Linked DNA regions of Homo sapiens: regions 1, 2, 3, 5, 6 and 7 are each linked to region 4. The links are contacts of gene promoters, found by promoter capture Hi-C in human tissues and cell types (Jung and others, 2019). All regions are on one chromosome and are shown on one strand. Each heading gives the region's core, a stretch centred on a gene start or on the middle of the fragment in contact. The rest is flanking DNA. Distances are from core to core; before and after follow the strand shown. Region 1 has its middle 37 kb from the start of CYP4F8. Region 2 holds the start of CYP4F3 (cytochrome P450 family 4 subfamily F member 3). Region 3 holds the start of AKAP8 (A-kinase anchoring protein 8). Region 4 holds the start of CIB3 (calcium and integrin binding family member 3). Region 5 holds the start of AKAP8L (A-kinase anchoring protein 8 like). Region 6 holds the start of NOTCH3 (notch receptor 3). Region 7 holds the start of WIZ (WIZ zinc finger).

The links. Contacts are between HindIII fragments. The study calls those that stand out against the background at their distance.
Region 1: a fragment that was not itself captured here is called in contact with the fragment with the promoter of CIB3 in region 4 in 1 of the 25 tissues and cell types used here (dorsolateral prefrontal cortex).
Region 2: the fragment with the promoter of CYP4F3 here is called in contact with the fragment with the promoter of CIB3 in region 4 in 6 of the 25 tissues and cell types used here (IMR-90 fibroblasts, adrenal gland, dorsolateral prefrontal cortex and 3 more).
Region 3: the fragment with the promoter of AKAP8 here is called in contact with the fragment with the promoter of CIB3 in region 4 in 1 of the 25 tissues and cell types used here (adrenal gland).
Region 5: the fragment with the promoter of AKAP8L here is called in contact with the fragment with the promoter of CIB3 in region 4 in 2 of the 25 tissues and cell types used here (mesenchymal stem cells and spleen).
Region 6: a contact is called between the fragment with the promoter of NOTCH3 here and the fragment with the promoter of CIB3 in region 4, in 3 of the 25 tissues and cell types used here (IMR-90 fibroblasts, mesendoderm cells and pancreas).
Region 7: a contact is called between the fragment with the promoter of WIZ here and the fragment with the promoter of CIB3 in region 4, in 2 of the 25 tissues and cell types used here (dorsolateral prefrontal cortex and spleen).

What each region holds. Positions count from the first base shown.
Region 1 is chr19:15,576,694-15,579,393 of GRCh38, reverse strand. It overlaps the pseudogene CYP4F23P. Among named protein-coding and RNA genes, the nearest start is that of CYP4F8, 37 kb to the left of the region's middle. The HindIII fragment of the contact is 3,197 bases long and covers 1-2,700 here.
Region 2 is chr19:15,639,519-15,642,218 of GRCh38, reverse strand. CYP4F3 (cytochrome P450 family 4 subfamily F member 3) reads right to left here and starts at 1,322. Exons shown (of 13, transcript NM_000896.3): 1 at 1,274-1,322; 2 at 606-804. The coding sequence starts at 803. The HindIII fragment of the contact is 9,363 bases long and covers 1-2,700 here.
Region 3 is chr19:15,378,475-15,381,174 of GRCh38, reverse strand. It overlaps AKAP8 (A-kinase anchoring protein 8), which reads left to right and starts at 1,388. Exons shown (of 14, transcript NM_005858.4): 1 at 1,388-1,462. The coding sequence starts at 1,444. It overlaps AKAP8L (A-kinase anchoring protein 8 like), which reads left to right. Exons shown (of 14, transcript NM_014371.4): 13 at 563-658; 14 at 745-1,125. The coding sequence ends at 1,053. RefSeq lists silencers at 763-1,252, 1,593-2,142 and enhancers at 417-1,331, 1,103-1,397, 1,332-2,247. The HindIII fragment of the contact is 19,214 bases long and covers 1-2,700 here.
Region 4 is chr19:16,172,269-16,174,968 of GRCh38, reverse strand. It overlaps CIB3 (calcium and integrin binding family member 3), which reads left to right and starts at 1,444. Exons shown (of 6, transcript NM_054113.4): 1 at 1,444-1,544; 2 at 1,773-1,807. The coding sequence starts at 1,494. The HindIII fragment of the contact is 31,728 bases long and covers 1-2,700 here.
Region 5 is chr19:15,417,658-15,420,357 of GRCh38, reverse strand. AKAP8L (A-kinase anchoring protein 8 like) reads left to right here and starts at 1,370. Exons shown (of 14, transcript NM_014371.4): 1 at 1,370-1,447. The coding sequence starts at 1,435. It overlaps WIZ (WIZ zinc finger), which reads left to right. Exons shown (of 13, transcript NM_001371589.1): 13 at 1-380. The HindIII fragment of the contact is 22,741 bases long and covers 1-2,700 here.
Region 6 is chr19:15,199,625-15,202,324 of GRCh38, reverse strand. NOTCH3 (notch receptor 3) reads left to right here and starts at 1,330. Exons shown (of 33, transcript NM_000435.3): 1 at 1,330-1,537. The coding sequence starts at 1,420. RefSeq lists enhancers at 446-945, 946-1,447 and a silencer at 2,034-2,260. The HindIII fragment of the contact is 7,500 bases long and covers 1-2,700 here.
Region 7 is chr19:15,448,671-15,451,370 of GRCh38, reverse strand. It overlaps WIZ (WIZ zinc finger), which reads left to right and starts at 1,415. Exons shown (of 13, transcript NM_001371589.1): 1 at 1,415-1,573. It overlaps MIR1470 (microRNA 1470), which reads right to left and starts at 1,823; the gene lies at 1,763-1,823. RefSeq lists silencers at 1,391-1,520, 1,571-1,690, 2,041-2,150. The HindIII fragment of the contact is 11,591 bases long and covers 1-2,700 here.

The DNA.
Region 1 (2,700 bases), core at 54-2,553, 600 kb after region 4:
GACAAATACAAAATATTCATTAAATTCTGTTGGGGCAACTAGCCATTTGGAGGAAAATGAATACATTCCTACAACAATTCTTATACTATCATAGACTTCATAGAGAAAAAAGTAATAAATATTTTTAAACTAAAATAATAAATAAAATATTTTAAAAACAAATAAACCCATCAGAGGAAAACAAACATGAGTTTTACATTTTAATTTTAGAGCATGAAAGAATGTCCCATGCATGATTTAAAAAAACAAAAACATGGCCAGGCGCAGTGGCTCACGCCTGTAATCCCAGCACTCTGGGAGGCCAAGGTAGGTGGATCACCTGAGGCCTGGCCAACATGGTGAAACCCCATCTCTACTAAAAATACAAAAATTAGCTGGGCATAGTGGTGGACACTTGTAATCCCAGCTACTTGAGAGGCTGAGGAGGAGAATCACTTGAACTCGGGAGGCGGAGGTTGCAGTGAGCTGAGATGGTGCCACTGCTGTCCAGCCTGGGTGACAGAGCAAGACTCTGTCTCAAAAAAAAAATAATAAAAATAATAAAAAAAACAAAAAACGGCACGTATAAAGGAAAGAATTTGACTGCAAATAAATTAATCAAGCCAAAATAAATGAATGAAAACCAACAATTAATTCAAAGACAATCTGAAAAAGAACTTTGCAAAACAGAAAAAAAGAACTAGTTTTCTTAATCTGTGAGCAGTGCTTATAAATCAATAAGAAAAAAACTACAAAACCCAAACTAGAAGGAACAAATTGTGCAAACACTTCACAGAATAAGAAATACCCATGGTCAGTAAGTGAAAACAATGCTCAACTTTACCCAGGCTTAAAGTGATGTTCATTGAAGTATTATGTTGCATCTATCAGATTGGCAAATGTTTTAAAGTTTCATAATAGACACTTTAGGGGAGAATGTGAGGAAGGCATTCTCAAAATGTGTGTGTAGGAGCTATTGAATTGTCAATCTCAAATGGTCTTCAGTTCACCAACTGCACTTCTCAGAATTGGTACTGCAAAGCTGCTCACAGATGTAAGCAATGGTCAGTGTACATGGGTGCCCACTACATCATGTTAGTTATAGCAAAAGCCTGGAAAGCACACAAATATCCATCAATGGAGAAATGTTTTGATGAATTACAGTACATCCTTATGAGAGAACACTATGCAGCTATCAAAAAGGAGGAAACAAAGAGAACTAGTTCTACAACACACTGGAGAGTTAATCAGTGCAGAGACTCTAAAAGGCAATTCGGCAATATCTATTAGAACTGAATAGGTTTGGCCAGGCGCTGTGGCTCACACCTGTAATCCCAGCACTTTGGTAGGCTGAGGTAGGCGAATCCCCTGAGGTCTGGAGTTCGAGACCAGCCTGGCCAACATGGTGAAACCCCGTCTCTATTAAAAATACAAAAATTAGCTGGGCATAGTGGCGGATGCCTGCAATCACAGGTCCTCAGGAAGCTGAGGCAGGAGAATCACCTGAACTCAGGAGGCAGAGGTTGCAGTGAGCAGAGATTATGCCACTGCACTCCAGCCTGGATGACACAGTGAGACTGTCTCAAAAAAAAAAAAAAAGAAAAGAAAAAAGAAAGAAGTAACAAAAAAGAAAAAATAATTGAATGAGTTTAATTGCAATAGATAGTAAAGGCAAAAATCCTGCAACATTTCCTTTGCTCCAGGCTGAGTACCAGGCCCTGTTTCTGAGCTCTGCACCAATTCCCACTAGGCAGTAATAGCACAATCACCAATAAGACCTTCTCCCTTTCCCACCTGAAGAGCTAAACCAATGAGAGGGACTCAGGAACAGGTCATGAGGACCTGCACACTCACCATTCAATCTCTTTAGGATCACCGTTCTTCAGGAGCTCTTGCACCTCCTGTCGGCAGTGCTCCTGGTATTCTGGGTACCTCGCGAGGTTGTACAGGACCCAGGAGAGACCACTGGCCGAGGTGTCATGGCCTGAGGGGCAGCCAGGTAAGCTTGGGTCTCTGGGCTGCTTCAGCACCCAAGGGTGGACAGCACCCATGTATTGAGGCCCTCAGAAGGAAGTGGGGAAGGAAGATGGGATGGGGTGATCCAGGGTCCACTCACCACATCCCTGGAATGGAGACACTCCTACCCCTAGTGACATCACACCCTGGGACCCTCACCCCCAGACATGAAGGTGTCAGCCTCCGCTCTTATGTTCTCATCTGACAACTTCTTTCCATTTTCATCCTGGAGACAAGACAAGACCTCTAAATTACACCAGCCATGAAGGCACCTGAGTCTAACCTAAAACAGTTCATGAAGATCCATATTCCAGGCAAGATTCCTCCCTTATCATCATTAGACCTGCCTAGCAGGACTCTTTCCCAGTCTCTTGCCTCCTGTTTGCTCCTTCTAGGAACTCTTCTACAGAGTCACCTCTAAAATATATCTTACTTGTCCCTCCTTTCCTCAAGCACCTTCCATGGCTCCCCAGTGCCCTCTGGATCAAGTCCAAGTTCATGGATCTGACATTTCACGTCAAAGTCCATTCTACTTCTGAAATTCAGATCCCAGAGTAGCCCACCTTGGCCAGCAAGAGCACGTCAATGAAGTCCAAAGTCTTGGACTTGGCCTTGGCCTGCAGGAAGTCATCGACACCCTGGCTAGTGAGGGTGCGACGCCGCTCCTGGATGACAGCATCTGTGAAGTTGTGCACTATGTCACAG
Region 2 (2,700 bases), core at 73-2,572, 530 kb after region 4:
GGAGAGCAGGTCTAAGTCAGAGGGCAAGGTCTGGGGGAGGAGAAAGGTCAGGGAAGGCTTCTGAAAGGGGAAGTGAGTGGCCAACTTTTATGTGGGTTTGGCAACAGGACCCCATTGGGACATCTTACTGGGGAGGAACAAGATAAGAGGAAGGTGCCTCCGGATGTGGTGGAGGTGAGAGACAGCCCACACCTCTCCTCTGGCCCACCTATACCCTCATAAGAGGAAATAGGCCAGGTAGGGAGAGGACCCTGAACAGTGGGTACAGGAGGCCTCGAGTCCAGCAATGGAGAATGTGGGAACGCCAGGGGTTCACCTTTCTGTGCACCCAACCCCCTGCCCAAGAGCCCCGCAGAGGTGCATTAATGTGGAAAGACAGGCAGGAAAAGGATTCAACACAGGCCAAGAGTGGGAGAACAGGGAGGTGAGAAGGGCTTGGGTTGGCACCTCACAGAAATGAGTAAGCAGAGGAATGAGTAAGACGCCTCCCCTGCTTCTCTGCCACCCCAGACCCCAGCCCACCCCCTCTCACCTGAGCCTCATTCTTACCCCTCAGGAAGTCCATCCACCCTGAGACCCCAGACCCGTCCTGCTGCCACACTCACCAGGCCCAGGTGACCCAAGAACCAATTCCGTTTCGGGGGTTGCGGGAAACACCGGAGGCGGCAGCAGTTGTCATAGAAGGTATAGGTCCAGGCCAGGATGCGGGCCAGGAGCCAGGAGGCCCCAACCAGCAGCAGGAGCAGCCACGGGGATGCTGCCATTGGCCAAAGGCCCAGCGAGGACAGGCTCAGCTGTGGCATCCTGCAGGGCAGATGGGGTGGTGAGTGAGGTCCTGAGGCCCAGGGAAGGGCCCAGGGAGCTCCAGGGACAGTGGAGAGAGGCAGAGACGGGCAGTGCTGGAGATAGAACAGTAAGAGTAAACAGGGATGGATAAACAGGGGCTGAGGGGTAAAGTCCAGAAAGGCCCAGCCAAAACCAGCAACCAAGTGGCCTCCAGTTACCCGGTAAGCACTTAGATTGAGAAAGACAGAGAAACTGATTAAAGTCCAGAAAGGCCCAGCCTGAATCATTAGGACGTTGCCAGGGGCTTGGTTTCAGTTAGAAAACCACTCATCCTCCAAGCCAGCAACCAGGAGCTGCCTGGGCCTTGGGCAGCAATGGAGAATGTGGGAAGGCTGGGGCTCCCCTATGTGTGCGCCCAATCCCTTGCCCAGTGCCCATCTCCATCACAGGCTAGGATGCCCCAGGCCCACCACCCCCACCCTGGCACCTTCTGTCAGGAGCACCTTGTCCCACACAACCTCCTCTCCCCTTCTTCTGGGAGGTTTTTTCCCCTGGCCCCTGATGTAGGGAAGGCTGTGGGAGGCTAGGCTGGGCTGGGCTGGGCCAGCCAATCCCCACAGCCTGGGTGCCGCTCCCATGTCTGGGCAGCTGGCCAAAACCTGGGTGTGGGAGACCAGCTGGATGCAGAGGAACCAGCTCAGGGTGACACAGCACAGGCACTGGATCCTCAGGTCTCAGCACCTCCCACATAAGGTGGAGAGTAAGCCGAGAGGGGTCAGATAGAGTTTCCACTGTGTGACACCTGCTCTTAAAGAGCACCTACTGAGTGTGTGGCAGATAAAAGCATGAACTTGAGAGTTCAGGTGTCAAGCGAGCCAGGCCAGGCCAAGCCTTGTTCCAGATCATCTCCTGTGCTCCTCTCTAACCCTGGGCCGGTAGGACACCGTGTACCACTTCTGGATGCTGAATCAGGCAACCTGGAAGAGACAAGCCTCTATCCCCCTGCTGCTGGATGGAGTTCAAGTCTTGCCTCCAGGCAGTCCAGGGCCCTGTTGGAGACCTGACTGCTAGGAACGGGAACAAAGAATCCAGCCCCACTGAGGATTACCTGGGTCAGATTCTGGAGATTAAGAGCTCAGCTGGAAAAGCAAATCTGGAGGCCGGACTCAGTATAGGAGGACAGAGCGGGGACGTGGAGGGTTAGGATGAGAGGGAACGGATGGGGTCCAGGCAGGGGAAGGGCAGAGCCAGGGAACCATGAATGGAGTCCTCATTCTGCCTCATCCTTGCTCTGACTTTGGTCAGTACTGCCCCTCCTGGGTGCAGTCTTCCCATCTGGGAAATGGGATGTTCGATGAGGGCCTTAGCGGGGGACAATGAGGGCTCCTAAGAGGAGGGAGCCCCAAAAAGGAGTGAAGGGAAAGGGTGGCAACTAGCACTTGAGCTGCTGTGTGCCAGTCTCTACTCTGCACAAAGGCTGCATGGAAAGTACTTCTACTGTGTGCCAATACTCTAAATGAAGGGCAGCTACTGTGTGCCAGGTGCTAAATCCTGTCTACTCTGTGCCAAGTGCTTTCCATAAAGTGTGCCTACTGTGTGCCAGGTGCTCTACATTAACCCTGTATACTCAGTTCCTGATATTCCTCATAGAGTGCCTACTGTGTGCCACCTGCTCTACATAGTGAGTGCCTATTGAGTGCCACCCCCTGTATATGAAGAGTGCCCACTGAGCACCAGTTGCTGTCTACATAACACATGCCTACTGAGTGCCAAGTGCTCTACATAAACAGTGCCTACTGATACCACCTGCTCTATATGGTGACTTCCTACTGAGTGTTTCCTGATCTACATAAAGAGGGTCTATTGAGTGCTGCCTGCTCGAGTGTTGCCTGTGCTCCATAAAGTGTACCTACT
Region 3 (2,700 bases), core at 139-2,638, 790 kb after region 4:
CTTTTCATACATTGTGTCAAACTGCTTTCCAAAAAATACGGAAACAGTTGATCCTCCCACCAGCAGAGAAGACTCTCTTCACCCTTGCATGACTGGGAATAATTCTTCATTCTTGGAATTCTGTGGGTTAAAAAAGACGTTTCATTAAATATCTGTTCCTGTTTTTATATCTTCCCCGTTGGCCCCAAAGTGCTCCTTGCCTATTAGCCTAGTTGGCACCTTGTTACAGGTTGCACCCACCTTTGGCTCTTAGTTTCTTAATTGTTCACTGCTTATAGCTTTTTTGTAAGCAAATCAGATTTCTGTAATACAGCCGTAAAGTTAGAGATATATAGATCTGTATTTTTATTTACCTACAGTAAGTGTGGTGTGGAAGGAGAGGGAATTTGAACAAAGATCAGATAGGTTGTGGTTCCATGCTTGTGGAGTGGCCCTCCGTTGGTGGGGCTGGAAGTGCGTGGGTGCAGGGGCGGGGTGGGGTCCCTCTAAGCTGGCAGGGTCGGGGCAGCAACTTGTAGGGCACTCAGAGCAGCCTCTCCAGCTCCTTCTGCCCTGCCCGCAGCTCATGATGGAGCAGTCCAAGAAGTCCTCCCTCATGGTGGCCCGCAGTATTCTCAACAACAAGCTCATCAGCAAGAAGCTGGAGCGCTACCTGAAGGTGAGGCACTGGTCCGGGCCTGCCCTGTCCCCAGCTTAGTCCCCGCCTGTGCTCCCTCCCTTCAGTGTCCGCGCCCCTCCCCACAGGGCGAGAACCCTTTCACCGACAGCCCCGAGGAGGAGAAGGAGCAGGAGGAGGCTGAGGGCGGTGCCCTGGACGAGGGGGCGCAGGGCGAAGCGGCAGGGATCTCGGAGGGCGCAGAGGGCGTGCCGGCGCAGCCTCCCGTGCCCCCAGAGCCAGCCCCCGGGGCCGTGTCGCCGCCACCGCCGCCGCCCCCAGAGGAGGAGGAGGAGGGCGCCGTGCCCTTGCTGGGAGGGGCGCTGCAACGCCAGATCCGCGGCATCCCGGGCCTCGACGTGGAGGACGACGAGGAGGGCGGCGGGGGCGCCCCGTGACCCGAGCTCGGGGCGGGCGGAGCCCGCGTGGCCGAAGCTGGAAACCAAACCTAATAAAGTTTTCCCATCCCACCTCCGGGTTTCTCTGTTACTGTGCCGCGCGGGCGGGGCGGGGTGGGCAGAGGGGCGGGGTGCGCATGCGCGCGGGCCGGGCCGTCGGGCACCGCGGTGGGACCACAACTCCCATTAGGCCACGGAGCTGGATCGTAGCAGCCCGAAAGGCCAGCTGGGACGGCGAGGGCGGGCCCTCGTGAAGACCAGCCAATGGGGGCGCGCGGAAGTAGTGACGTGTGCGCCTGGTCTTCCAGTAGTCGATGGCGGAGGTGCGCTGAACGCATGCGTGCTGTGGTCGCCTAGTAAACGGGGCTGCTGGTGGGCCGCGTCGAAGACATGGACCAGGGCTACGGAGGTTTGTGTTGGCTGCTGGGTGCGGAGCGGGGAGGGAAGGCTCTGTGCGGGCGACGCAGCCGCTGCGCAGACTGCCGCCGGCCGGGCCTTCGTCCCGAGCGTGGTTGCCCCAGCTGGGCCCTCCGGAGAGGCGGCCAGGGCGCGCGCGCGCCGCTCATTGGGCTTTGGCGCCGTCGCTCCCGGGGCTCTGCGTGCGGATTGGCCGCCAGGCCCCGAGGAGGCGGGCGGGACTCGGGGTTGGGGCAGACGCCGCGGTGGGCTTCGTGGGGGCGTCTTAGACAGTGTGGGCCGTTTTTGCCCCTCACCTTCGGCGGAGTCCTTCCGGCCCCCAGCGACCCCGGGGTTTGCACTCCCGGCTTCCTCTTCCGAAGACGCCACAAAATGGCGGCGCTAGGGGGGCGGAGCTACAGCGTGGGGTTGTGAGGTCGGACCCGGGGAGCTGGGTCTGGGGCCGCGGGCGGACCGCGGGGGCCGCCTCTCTCCCGACCTGCCCTAGGCCCGCGGGGCCGTGTAGGGTCTCCGCTGGGCTCACGTGGCCCAGGGCGCCTGTCCCGGAAGCCGTCGGGCTGCGCGGGGTCGGGCCTTTAGTCCCCGGTGCAGCGCGGTGGGGCCGAGTGCTGCCGGCGCGAGAGTCAGCCTCGCCGGGCTCCAGCTCTGTACCCGGCGCGTGCTGGCTTGGGACAGGATGGTGAGGGGCAGATGCTGAGTGTTCGTATAAAGCTGGAAACCTGATGTGCCCTGGGGCTGGTGACATTGGCAGTTCTCCTTTAGGCAGTCTGTTGTGGTGGCCTGGAGGGGCCGAGGGGCTGTGCAGGAGGGAACGTGTCCTTTCCCCACTAGGATTTAGCGCTTGGCCTGCAGTAGGGCCGATCTTCTCGAGCTGCCTGCTCCCTGCTTCTGGAATCAGAGCCTTTTGGGAGCAAAGTTTGCCCACAGGGGATAGTTGGGACATGCTGGGTGGAGCTCGACTGGTTGTAGAGAAGCTAGTGGTCTGATCCTGGCTGCAGGAGCTCGAGAAGTTGTCGATCTTGAGAAGTGGCAGGGCAAAAGTATCCCAGCACCAGAAATTGCAGAGAGAGGTTTCGGTCCTGAGGCGGCAGCGTGCGCGGTGTGCTTTGGTGTCTTCCGGGTCCTAGCGAAGGCTCAGCCTGGCTCTCCTGGTCTTCCGCAGCCTGGGTAGATTTCACCATTCTTTCCCTTCTTTCCCATCAGATCTTTTCTGCAGGTATTGTATTCCTT
Region 4 (2,700 bases), core at 195-2,694:
TGGCCAACATAGTGAAACTCTGTCTCTACTAAAAATACAAAACTTAGCCAGGCGTGGTGGTGGGCGCCTGTAATAATCCCAGCTACTCGGGAGGCTGAGGCAGGAGAATGGCCTGAACTCGGGAGGTGGAGCTTGCAGTGAGCCGAGATCACGCCACTGCACCCTAGACTGGGTGACAGAGCGAGACTCCGTCTCAAAAAAAAAAAATACAAAAAAAATTAGCTTGGCATGGTGGACACCTGTGGTCCCAGCTACCTGGGATGCTGAGGCAGGAGAATCACTTGAACCTGGGAGGCAGAGATTGCAGTGAACCGAGATCACACCACTGCACTCCAGCCTGGGCAACAGAGTGAGACTGTCTCAAAAAAATAAAATGTAATAAAATAATAATGTCAATGCACACCCCAGAACTTCATCTAGCTTGTTCACCATTATGTTCCCAATGCAGTGATGCAATCATGGCTCACTGCAGCCTCAAACTCCTGGGCTCAAGCAATCCTCCCACCTCAGCCTCCTGAGTAGCTGGGACCACAGGCATGCACCACCACATCCAGCTAATTTTTGTATTTTTAGTAGAGATAGGGCCTTGCCATGCTGCCCAAGCTGATCTTGAACTCCTGGCCTCAAGTGAATCTCATGCTTTGTCCTCCTAAAGTGCTGGGATTACAGGTATGAGCCACCTCGCCCAGCCAAAACCTTTTTTTTTTTTTTGGAGATGGAGTCTTACTCTGTCACCCAGTCTGGAGTGCAATGGCGGGATCTCGGCTCACTGCAACCTCCACCTCCTGGGTTCAAGCAATTCTCCTGCCTCAGTCTCTGGAGTAGCTGGGATTACAGGCATGTGTCACAATGCCAAGCTAATTTTTGTATTTTTAGTAGAGATGGGGTTTTGCCGTGTTGGCCAGGCTGGTCTTGAACTCCTGACCTCAGGTGATCCGCCTGCCTGGCCCTCCCAAAGTGCTGGGATTACAGGTGTGAGCCACCTTGCCCAGTCAAAACCTTTTTTTTTTTTTTTTAAATCTCAGATCCTGAGAATGACCCTATGAGGTAGGTATAATGTAATTTTCATCTCATGAATGAGGTTCAGAGAAGTCAGGTGACTTGCCCAGGGCCACACAGCTAGTGGGCAGAGAGCTGGGATTTGAGCTGCAGTGTGCCCATAGCCCTTCTGTATACCCTGCCTGTCTCTTGAGTGTGCCCCATAACCCCAGCCTCACCTTGTGGTGGCAGATGTGGCCTCCCCACTGAGGTCTTCTCTGTGACATCCCACAGCCCTTATCCTTACCCATGGACACATTCAGGCTGTTGTCCAGAGAGCCTGGCTGTAATTTGAGTCTCATCAAGCAGGGGGTGATGGCGTAGGTGGGTGGGTGACAGCCAGGGCAGGGAGATTTGCCCAGACACTGGTACACAACAGCCTGGCAACCCGTGTGGCCCCGAGGAAGCTGGGAGCCTTTGGGGTGCATCCCCAAGTCTGGGCTGTGGTTCACACCATGGGCAACAAGCAGACAGTCTTCACACACGAGCAGCTGGAAGCGTATCAGGTAGAGGGGGGCAGGATGGGTCCTCAGTGGGTTTGACAACTTTGGTTCCGTGGTCTGGGAAATGGGAACAGAATGCCTTCATCTGGGTGTACCGTCCGCCTGGGTTCCTGGTTCTGCTCTGTGTGTGGCAGCATCAGGCCATCTGTGTGAGTGTGGGGTGGAGGGAGGAGGCCGTGGGAGGAGGCCCCAGAGGCAGGGTTCGGGTTAAGACAACACCTCTCTCCACAGGACTGCACATTTTTCACAAGGAAGGAGATCATGAGGTCAGTCCAGGGAGGAAGGGAGAGAAGATCTGGAAAAACAACTTTCTATTCATTGCTGGAGGATATTTGCAATTTGGTGTGTGTGTGTGTGTGTGTGTGTGTGTGTGTGTGTGTGTGTGTAAGTAGTCTTTCTTTCTTTCTTTCTCTTTTCTCTCTCTCTCTCCCTCCCTCCCTCCCTTCCTTCCTTCCTTCCTTCTTTTCTTTTTTTTTGAGACAGGGTCTGTCTCTATTGCCTGGGCTGGAGTGCAGTGGTGCAATCATGGCTCATTGCAGGCTCGATCTCCCAAGGTCAGGTGATCCTCCCACCTCAGCCTCTCGAGTAGCTAGGACCACTGGTGCGAGCCACCACATGTACCTCATTTTTGTATTTTTTTATAGAGATGGGGCTCTCACTATGTTGCCCAGGCTGGTCTTAAACCCTTGGGCTCAAGCGATCCCCCTGCCTCAGCCTCCCAAAGTGCTGGGATTACAGGTGTGAGCCACCATGCCCAACTGGTATTTCCAATTTGTTGGGACTCAAATGGGGAAGGGGGGCAGGTGTGGTCAGTGGACAGAGGCAGAGATGGAGAAGCTGACAAGTCACATCTTGTCATACTGTCCCAGTCTCTAGGCTGATGAGCTTGGGCTTTCTCCCAAGGGTGGCAGGGAGCTATGGAGCATGCATGAGCAGGGGAGAGACCATCAGCACGTTAGAAAGATTCTCCTGAGGCTGGGCGCGGTGGCTCATGCCTGTAATCCCAGCACTTTGGGAGGACAAGGTGGGTGGATCACCTGAGGTCAGGAGTTTAAGATCAGCCTGGCCAACATGGTGAAACCCCATCTCTGCTAATAATACAAAAATCAGCTGGGCGAGGTGGTGGGTGCCTGTAATCCCAGCTACTCAAGAGGCTGAG
Region 5 (2,700 bases), core at 121-2,620, 750 kb after region 4:
ACATCAGAAGTGGCTTTGTTCCGTATGGCAGCAAGTTCTGCAGAAGCCTCATTTGGGTGGGGGGAGTTTTATTAAAACAGTTTATCATGGAGAATTCCAACTATACAAAAGTAGAGCAAACAGTAAAATGGACTCTCATCTATCCATCACCAACCCATGACCAATGTCTTCAGCTGTCAGAGATTTATCTTATAGCTCCTTGCTTCCTCCTCCTCTCTCTACCTGTCTGAATTGTGTGAAGCACATCCTGGCCATAAGATCAGTTAACTTCTTAGTATTTCAGTATGTTTCTCTCAACGTTGTAAATGCCACTATTACACCTAAAGAAATCAACAATATCAAAAAGAAACAGCATACCTTAAAAAAAGTTTTAAAACACACGAAGCGTAGAAGTCGTAATTGCGCAGCTTAATGAGTTTTCACAAACACACGTGTTAAGTACTCTTCGGTGCAGCTCTGTCATCTCTAGAAATTATGAGTTGTCCCTGGCAGGGTTTCCATATGCCCAGGAAACAGACTGAGGACATGACTGGTGCCCGGCTGCACTATTGCAGGATCTCTCGAGCCCAGAGTGAATCAGGAGGGTTTTAGAAGCAAAGCTCCCATTTTAACACGTAACTGTCAAGGACCTTGAGCAAATCATGAGTTCCAAGCTTCAGTTTTAAGTGAGGATTAAAAGCTTTTTGCAGGTTTGAAGGAGCATTCGAATGACACACAATACAAACGGAATTATTACACATATAAGCATATGCCATATAAATATATTATCGTTTTGTTACGATTAATCACATTTATTCAGTGCACTGGCACCAGAATGATTTCTTTACACACACTTTGTCACGTAATGTTGAAACGTGTGTCCAGCATCTTGTTTGGTGCTGTTTTAATTTTCTCTTCTCAACATGGCTTTGCTATGCTTGTTTTGGAGCCGAAGGCCAGAGAATTTGAGAGACTTAGCTAGGTCCCCTACCCAGCACCTCGGTGGCGGAGTTGGCATCCCAGCCCTGCCCTGAGCCGTAGACCCGACTCCCTCTGGCGGGTCTCCAGGGTACGGGCGCTCCTCCAGCCCGACCATGCTTGGGCCTTGGGCCTTTCCGTAGTGCACAGCTCCGCCCCCTCAAATTCTATAGGACTCCGCCTCTCTGCCGGCTTCTGTAGGCCAATCACTGAGGCCTTAGAATAACAGAAGGCGGGGACAAGGCGGGGCTCTCACGAGATTGCCAGCAGCTTCCAGCCACTGATATGAGGAGGCATAGAGATAGACAGCGGTTCCTTCCAATAGACGTGAAGCCGAGGCCGGTATGAGCCAATGCGGTCGGGAGGCGGGGCTCGGGTGTGTGTGGAGGGGACCCTGTGGTTAGCAGCAGCTATCGCAGCGTCGGATGTTCAGAGCAGCAGAAGCCGGCGTCGTCGGATGTTGTGTTGCCCGCCACCATGAGCTACACAGGTGGGCCTGGCAGGGTGGGGTCGGGCTCTGCGTGGGGGATGGGACAGGGACGTGCGGATGCCGCACCAGGCTTGCCCGCACCTCCCCTGGGGCCCCGTCACTGCCTTCCCTGCGGTCACAAAATGGCGCCGCTGGCCCGTCGCCTCAGGGTCGCTGCCCTCACGCCTCGTTGCCTCAGCTCTCTGTGTCTGCAGCCGGCGTCCCGGCTCCCGGCCGCCTGATGTCTTGGCTTCTGTCGCCTGTGTCCGTGGGTCCGGGCCTCAGCGCACGAGGTCTCCGCCCCCACCACCTCCGTCCCTGGCCTGCGCTCCTGGACCTCGACGCCTTAGGTTTCCCTTTCTCAGGCCTTGGTCCTTGCGAGCAGGCAGCAGGCTCGGCTGCCGTCGCCATTGTCGCGTCCTCCCCCGCGCAGTTTCTCTGCAAAAACGCCGCAGCTCTACACCCCCATCCCGATCCCACCCACCACCCCCTTTTGTCTATTTCAGAACTGGGAAAGGCGCCAGGCCCTAGGGGGATAAGTAAATATTGGAAGGGTTTGGGCTGAGCGGGGAGCCTTGGGCCCCTAGGGGCTGAACTGCAAGGAATGACAAGGTTCCATGTTAATTCCCTCTGCGTCTGTCAAATGAACCGTGTCCGGTACAGACTGGGTATTGGGAATACAGACAAGAATTCCTCAAGCAGCTTAGAGGCGAGGATCTTAATAGGCAAATAAGCGAGTGTAGGATATATTTTAGGGTGGTCAGTACCGTGCGGGGGTCGCTCCACTACGTGGAGTGGTTGGAGCCTTCTGTAAAGAGGTGACATTTGAGCAGAGACCTAAATGGAGGGAGCGAATAAAGATATCTGGCCCAGGGAGCTTTTGCTGTAAAAGGCTTACGGGCAGGAACTGCCTGGCTTGTTAGAAGATCAGCCAGGGAGGCCAGTGGGAGGCCAATGGGATTTGAAAGGGAGAGTGGGTGACAGATCCGAGAGCCCCTCTCCGCCCCCCGCAATATGCTTGGGCGACTGTAAATCATCACTGGGTGAATTGCCAAGGCCTCCTGGGTTTGCCTTGGCAGTGACTGATGAGGCTTCTCGGCCAGGAGACTTACACTAGGCCTCCCTGTTTGGTGAGGGTATTATAGGCTTGAGCGTGTGTGGTTGCCAGGTAACCTGCATTCTACTTGGAATTTTGAGAACTGAGAATGCAACGTGAGTCTGTGGGGCTCCTTTGTAGACCACTTTATGTTGGCATAGGCAAGAAGGTAGTGCCA
Region 6 (2,700 bases), core at 81-2,580, 970 kb after region 4:
CCAGCTACTCGGACGGCTGAGGCAGGAGAATGGTGTGAACCCAGGAGGCGGAACTTGCAGTGAGCGGAGATCATGCCACTGCACTTCAGCCTGGGCAACAGAGCGAGACTCCGTCTCAAAAACAAACAAACAAGTAAACAAAAACCCAGAAAAAATTAGCCACGTATGGTGGCGCACACCTCTAATCCCAGCTACTTGGCAGATTGTGGGGGTGGGGGCTGAGGAAGGAGAATCGCTTGAACCTGGGAGGTAGAGCTTGCAGTGAGCCAAGATAGGGACACTGCACTCCAGCCTGGGTGACAGAGCGACACGCTGTCTCAAAAAAAAAAAAAAAAAGAAAAGAGAATTAATCAAATTGAGCCAGATAGGCTGAGGCCCAAAGCTGTGTGGGGTATGGGGGTGGGACTAGGGGGCTGGGGTGACCCTTTGAGAGTCACAGAGGAAGTGGGTTGCTTTCTGGGAGGGCTGAGAGCAAGAAGAGTTTGTGTGTGCATGTGTGAACACACACACATGCATGTGACTCCTAGTACGTGTCTGAGGTCTGAGGCTGCAAATGTAGTCCTAGGCTCCTGGCCTGGCTGAGTGAGTTTTAGCGGTTTTTTGTTTGTTTGTTTTGTTTGAGACAGGGTCTTACTCTGTTGCCCAGGCTGGAGCGCAGTGGTACGATTTCGGCTAAGTGCAACCTCAGCCTCCTGGGTTGAAGCGATTTTCCTGCTTCAGCCTCTCGAATAGCTGGGACTACAGGCGTGCGCCACCACGCTCAGCTAATTTTTGTATTTTCAGTAGAGTCCGGGTTTCACCATGTTGGCCAGGCTGGTCTCCAACTCTTGACCTCAAGTGATCCATCCACCTCTGCCTCTCAAAGTGCTGGGATTACAGGCCGGAGCCACCGCGCCCGGTCCGACTTTTAGGTTTGTGAATGTTTTAGATCAGAGTCCTGGGGAAGCTTGGTGCATGGGCTTGCATTTGTGCGTCCGTGGCTGTGGGTCCATGAGCCTCTCAGGACGTGACTGGCCTCAGTTTCCAGAGTTTCTGGGAGGCTGTGTTTTTTGTCCCGGCTCCAGAGGTGTCCGGCTCTGGGTGTGTACTGGGGGATGGGGATGGGGTGCGTGGGCGTTCACGAGGTTGGGTGTGCCCGCCACTCCGGGTTCTGCCCGCGTCTCACTGCATGCTCGGCCTGGGTTTCCGAGGGTCCGCGCGTCCCAGGCTGTGCGGGTGGAGGGTGGGCAGGGACCCCGGGAGGCCGGGCGGGGGGCGGGGGCGCGCTGGGCCGGCCCCGGGGCGGGGCGAGCCTTCGAGGGCTGGGGGCGGGGCGGCCCGGCCGCCTCACTTCGGCGAAGTTGGCGGCGCGGAGGCTGGCCCGGGACGCGCCCGGAGCCCAGGGAAGGAGGGAGGAGGGGAGGGTCGCGGCCGGCCGCCATGGGGCCGGGGGCCCGTGGCCGCCGCCGCCGCCGTCGCCCGATGTCGCCGCCACCGCCACCGCCACCCGTGCGGGCGCTGCCCCTGCTGCTGCTGCTAGCGGGGCCGGGGGCTGCAGGTGAGGGGCCGGGACCTGGCGGATGGGACGAGGGCGGCAGAGGGGGAGTGCAAGAACCCCCAAGGCCGGGGCTGGCGGGGGTTCATGGGAGGCAGGAACCAGGGTCGGGGAAGGGGCGCAGGAGCCCCGGGCTTCATGCCAGTCCTGGAGGACCCAGAGATTCAGAATGGGGAGGACCCCAGAGGCCCAAGGAACAGGGACCCTTGAGCGATTAGAGCTGAAGATGAAGGGACCCAGGAGTCCGAGACTGGGAGCTCGAGGTGCGGGGATCAGGGACTCGAGGTGGGGGGGTGCGTACAGAGTTCGGGACTCGTCCCCATCCAACTCACGCCTGGAGTCCTGGGTAGGTTATGATTGGGGGCCCAGGTACTTCTAGGCCGGGGACCTCTCGCACAAAAGCCCCCCCACCCCGCCCCCGACACCCCGGGCGGGCTGGGCCAGGCGGGGGGTGGGGAGGGGGCGCGAAGTTCTGGGAGCTCTGAACTCGGAGAAAACTTCCCAGGCCGGCGCGCAGCAAGACCCGGAGCCGGATTCCGAGCCGGAGCCTCGGCGGCGCGCGCGCCCCCTCCCCCGCCCGCAGCCCGCCTCTCTCCTCTGGCCGCGGGGACCCGGAGGCCCTGGGACCCCGCCCCTGCGCGGGGAGGGGAAGGGGCGAGGGCCCACGTGCTCCCCTTCGGCTCCAGCGCCCCCTCCCCGCGGCCAGAGCCCCTCCCCAGCCGGCCAGGGGCCCCCGCCCCTCCTCCTCTCCTCCCTCCCCTCCCCCGCTCGGGACAATGGCCGCGCCGTCTAGACACCCCCTCCCTCCGGCCGGCCTCGCGCTTTCTTTGCCAGACAAAGCGGGACCCGCGGCTGGGCCGGGGAGGGGGCTGCGGGGGCACCCCCCTCACCGCTACGGGAGGCCTGGTGGGCGGGGGAGGGGCGCGGGCCAAGGCCCCTGGCCAGGGGTCCCAGACGCCAGTGTGGGGCTTGGCGCTGGGCGGGGTGGGGGTTTCGGGAGTGAACGGCCTCCCCAGCCCAGCCCCGGGGCCCGGACGGGGCAGGACCAGGCAGGAGCCGCCGCCTCCGCCGGACCAGCGGCGCACACACATGGCCTGTGACACACTCGCTGGCACACATAGCTCTAGGTCACGTAACAGAGATGCAAACCTGCACACACACAGCAC
Region 7 (2,700 bases), core at 166-2,665, 720 kb after region 4:
TTGTTATAGGCAGCACCTGCTTCTCAATGAAGCATGGATTCCACCCCTGGCAACCTCCCAATCCCACAGTGAGAGCATCTTCCTAGGCCCTCCTCATGTCACGGAGGCCATGGGTCTGGGAGGCGGATAAAGGAAGGGGGTCAGGTGTGGAGATGGTTGGATACTGTGTATGAATGATTGGGTAAATGAGTCATTCAAATCATGGGTGAGTGGATGGGTGAGGGGTAGAGTGGGTGGAGCAAACGGCAGACGGATAGGTTAGCATTTGCTGGATGTTTGACCTGGTAGGTGAGTAGCTGGGTAGTTGGTTAACCAGGTTGGGTATGTCTGCCTAGAAAAGGCCTGGTTCATAGTAAGAAAAAATTTTTTTCAATGTTGTGATTATATATATCATATGTACATATGTTGAGGTCTCCTGAGACGCCTGAGAACTGGGCAGTGGAGAAACAATAATGAACTAGACAGGACTCCTGGCCTCATGGAACTTACATGTTAGTGGAGGGACCAAATCAACAGACAAACTGGTGGATGGATGTTTGGGGGGCTGGGCGGAAAGATGTGTGTGGGGATGGTTGGGTACTTGCTTGGTTGTATGGATAAATGAGTATTTACTTGGGTGCTGGATGAATGGGTGGGTAGATGGGAAGTGAATGGGTGGGTTGAGTGGGTGTTTGGGTGAATTAATAGGTGGTTGGAGGGGTGGGTGGATAGGTGATTAGTTCATTGGATAGGTAGATGAGTGATTGATAGATTGAGGAAGTGGATGAGATAGCTAGGTGGTTAGATATCTGGATACATGGTGGATAAGACAAGACAACAGGCCATGATGTGTGTCTGATGGGGTAGTCCTGGAAGCTGTGATCCTGGGAACTGGGTGGAGAAGGTGACTTAGGACTGAAGACCTAGGGCAACTCTAGGGACATGGAGGTGCTGAAGTCCAGTGTGGATGATTGGGAAGGAGGGAGTGAGCTTGTGGTTGGAAGGTAGCTGATGGGGGGCAGGGGACAAAAGGCTAAAAATTGGCTGGGTGGAGTCTTCAATGACCTATCAATGACCCATCAATGACCCATGGGGGAACTTCTCTGCACCCTCCCCACTCTTTTAGTGCTTTTAGCGAGCCTACCATTGGAAGTACCAGTGGGACGATAAGGAGCCATTGGGGTGTGGGACGACAAGGGTGTTGTCATGGTAACGGGGCCTCTCCCTGGACTCAGGCCGTGCGGGCCCTTTAAGGGTGACCCGCTTGGCCACTCCCAACATGGCGGCGCGCCCGCTGGCCGCCCCCCCCGGGGCGGCGAGGGGGGGGGGGGTGGGGTGGGGGGGGCGCCCCGGACCTCCCCATCATGGCGGCGCGGCGGGGCTGTCGCGCTGAGGTCACGGCGGCGCGCCGGGGGGGCGGGGCGGCGGGGGGAGCGATTTAAAGGGACAATGTCCCCCGAGCGGTGGAGGCGGCGGCGGCTGCGGAGGCCGCGGCACCGGCACCGGGAGCGGCAGCGGCGGTAGCGGCAGCGACGGCCGCACCAAGGAGGGGAGCTCCGAGCCCCGGCACCTGGCCGGCGGCGCCGCCTCCCCGGTGAGGCCCGGCCCGGCCTGGGGAGCCCGCGGGTGGGGCGGAGCCGTAGCGGGGCGGGGGAGGCCCCGGGCCGGGCCGGGCCAGGCGGGACCCCCCGGGGCGGGGGCGGGGGCGGGGCCTTCAGGGGCGGGGCCTGGCCGGGGGCGGGGCCGTGCAGGTGGGGGGAGGGGCGGGGGTCTTGGGGCAGGTGTCCCCCCTACCTCGGCGCGTCCCGCGGGGTCTCCTGCCCCGGGGTGCACGGGCGGAGGGCTCATCCCCCGGACCCTGGACCCCCGAGGAGTGGGCCCGCGCGGCGCAGCCCCCACCTCTGCGACCCCTGGGGGGCGTCCGGGTAGGAGCCCCCTCCCCACGCTGCCAAAGTGCTCCGAAGTTGCGGTCCCGCCCGTTCCCCGCGGGCAGTGCCCACCCAGTGGACAACCGCAGGTGCTTCCTCCGGGCCTGGGTAGGGACCCCCACCAAGACTGCCAGCCCACGGAGGAGCCCCCTGGGAATCCCCAGGCCCCCGAGGGCAGCGCCTGCAACCAGGCCTGGCGCCCCGGCCCCGCCCCGGTTGCCTGGGCCCGGCCTCCCCACCATCTCCCTGGGGAGGGCGCCTCATTCCTGCCCTTCACTTTCCGCCGTTACCTTGAAGGTATTTATAGGTAGAGAGGACAACCCCCGCTCCCCAGGGTCCTCATTTCTGGACCAGGAGCCCTATCGTTTTCTTTCGCCCGAGGACTAGAGCAATCTTGGTTGGGGGGTGGGGGGAATGGAGGAGCCCAAGCTGGGTATGCATGAGGGATAATGTTGGGGAGAAGCGAAAGGGTTAATGCTGGGGTCACTTGAGGCTGTGTGTGTGGAGGGGGGTGAAGGGGTTAATGCTGGAGAACCCTAAGGTCCTGTGTGGGGGAAGGGTTGGAGTGTGGGAAAAGTGCAGGGATCATTGGTATGGGACAACCCAATGGAGAAAAGTAAAGGGGTAATGATGGGAGACTCCTGACGGTGTATAGGATCAGAGTGTACAAGTGGCTGGGATTCTTGCCGAGGAAACGAAGGCATGGCAGTAGGATGTGCGTGTGCATGGATGTGAGGGCAGGACTGGGGAAAGTGCAGCTGTGTGTGAATGAAGGGAGGCGTCTGGAGAAATG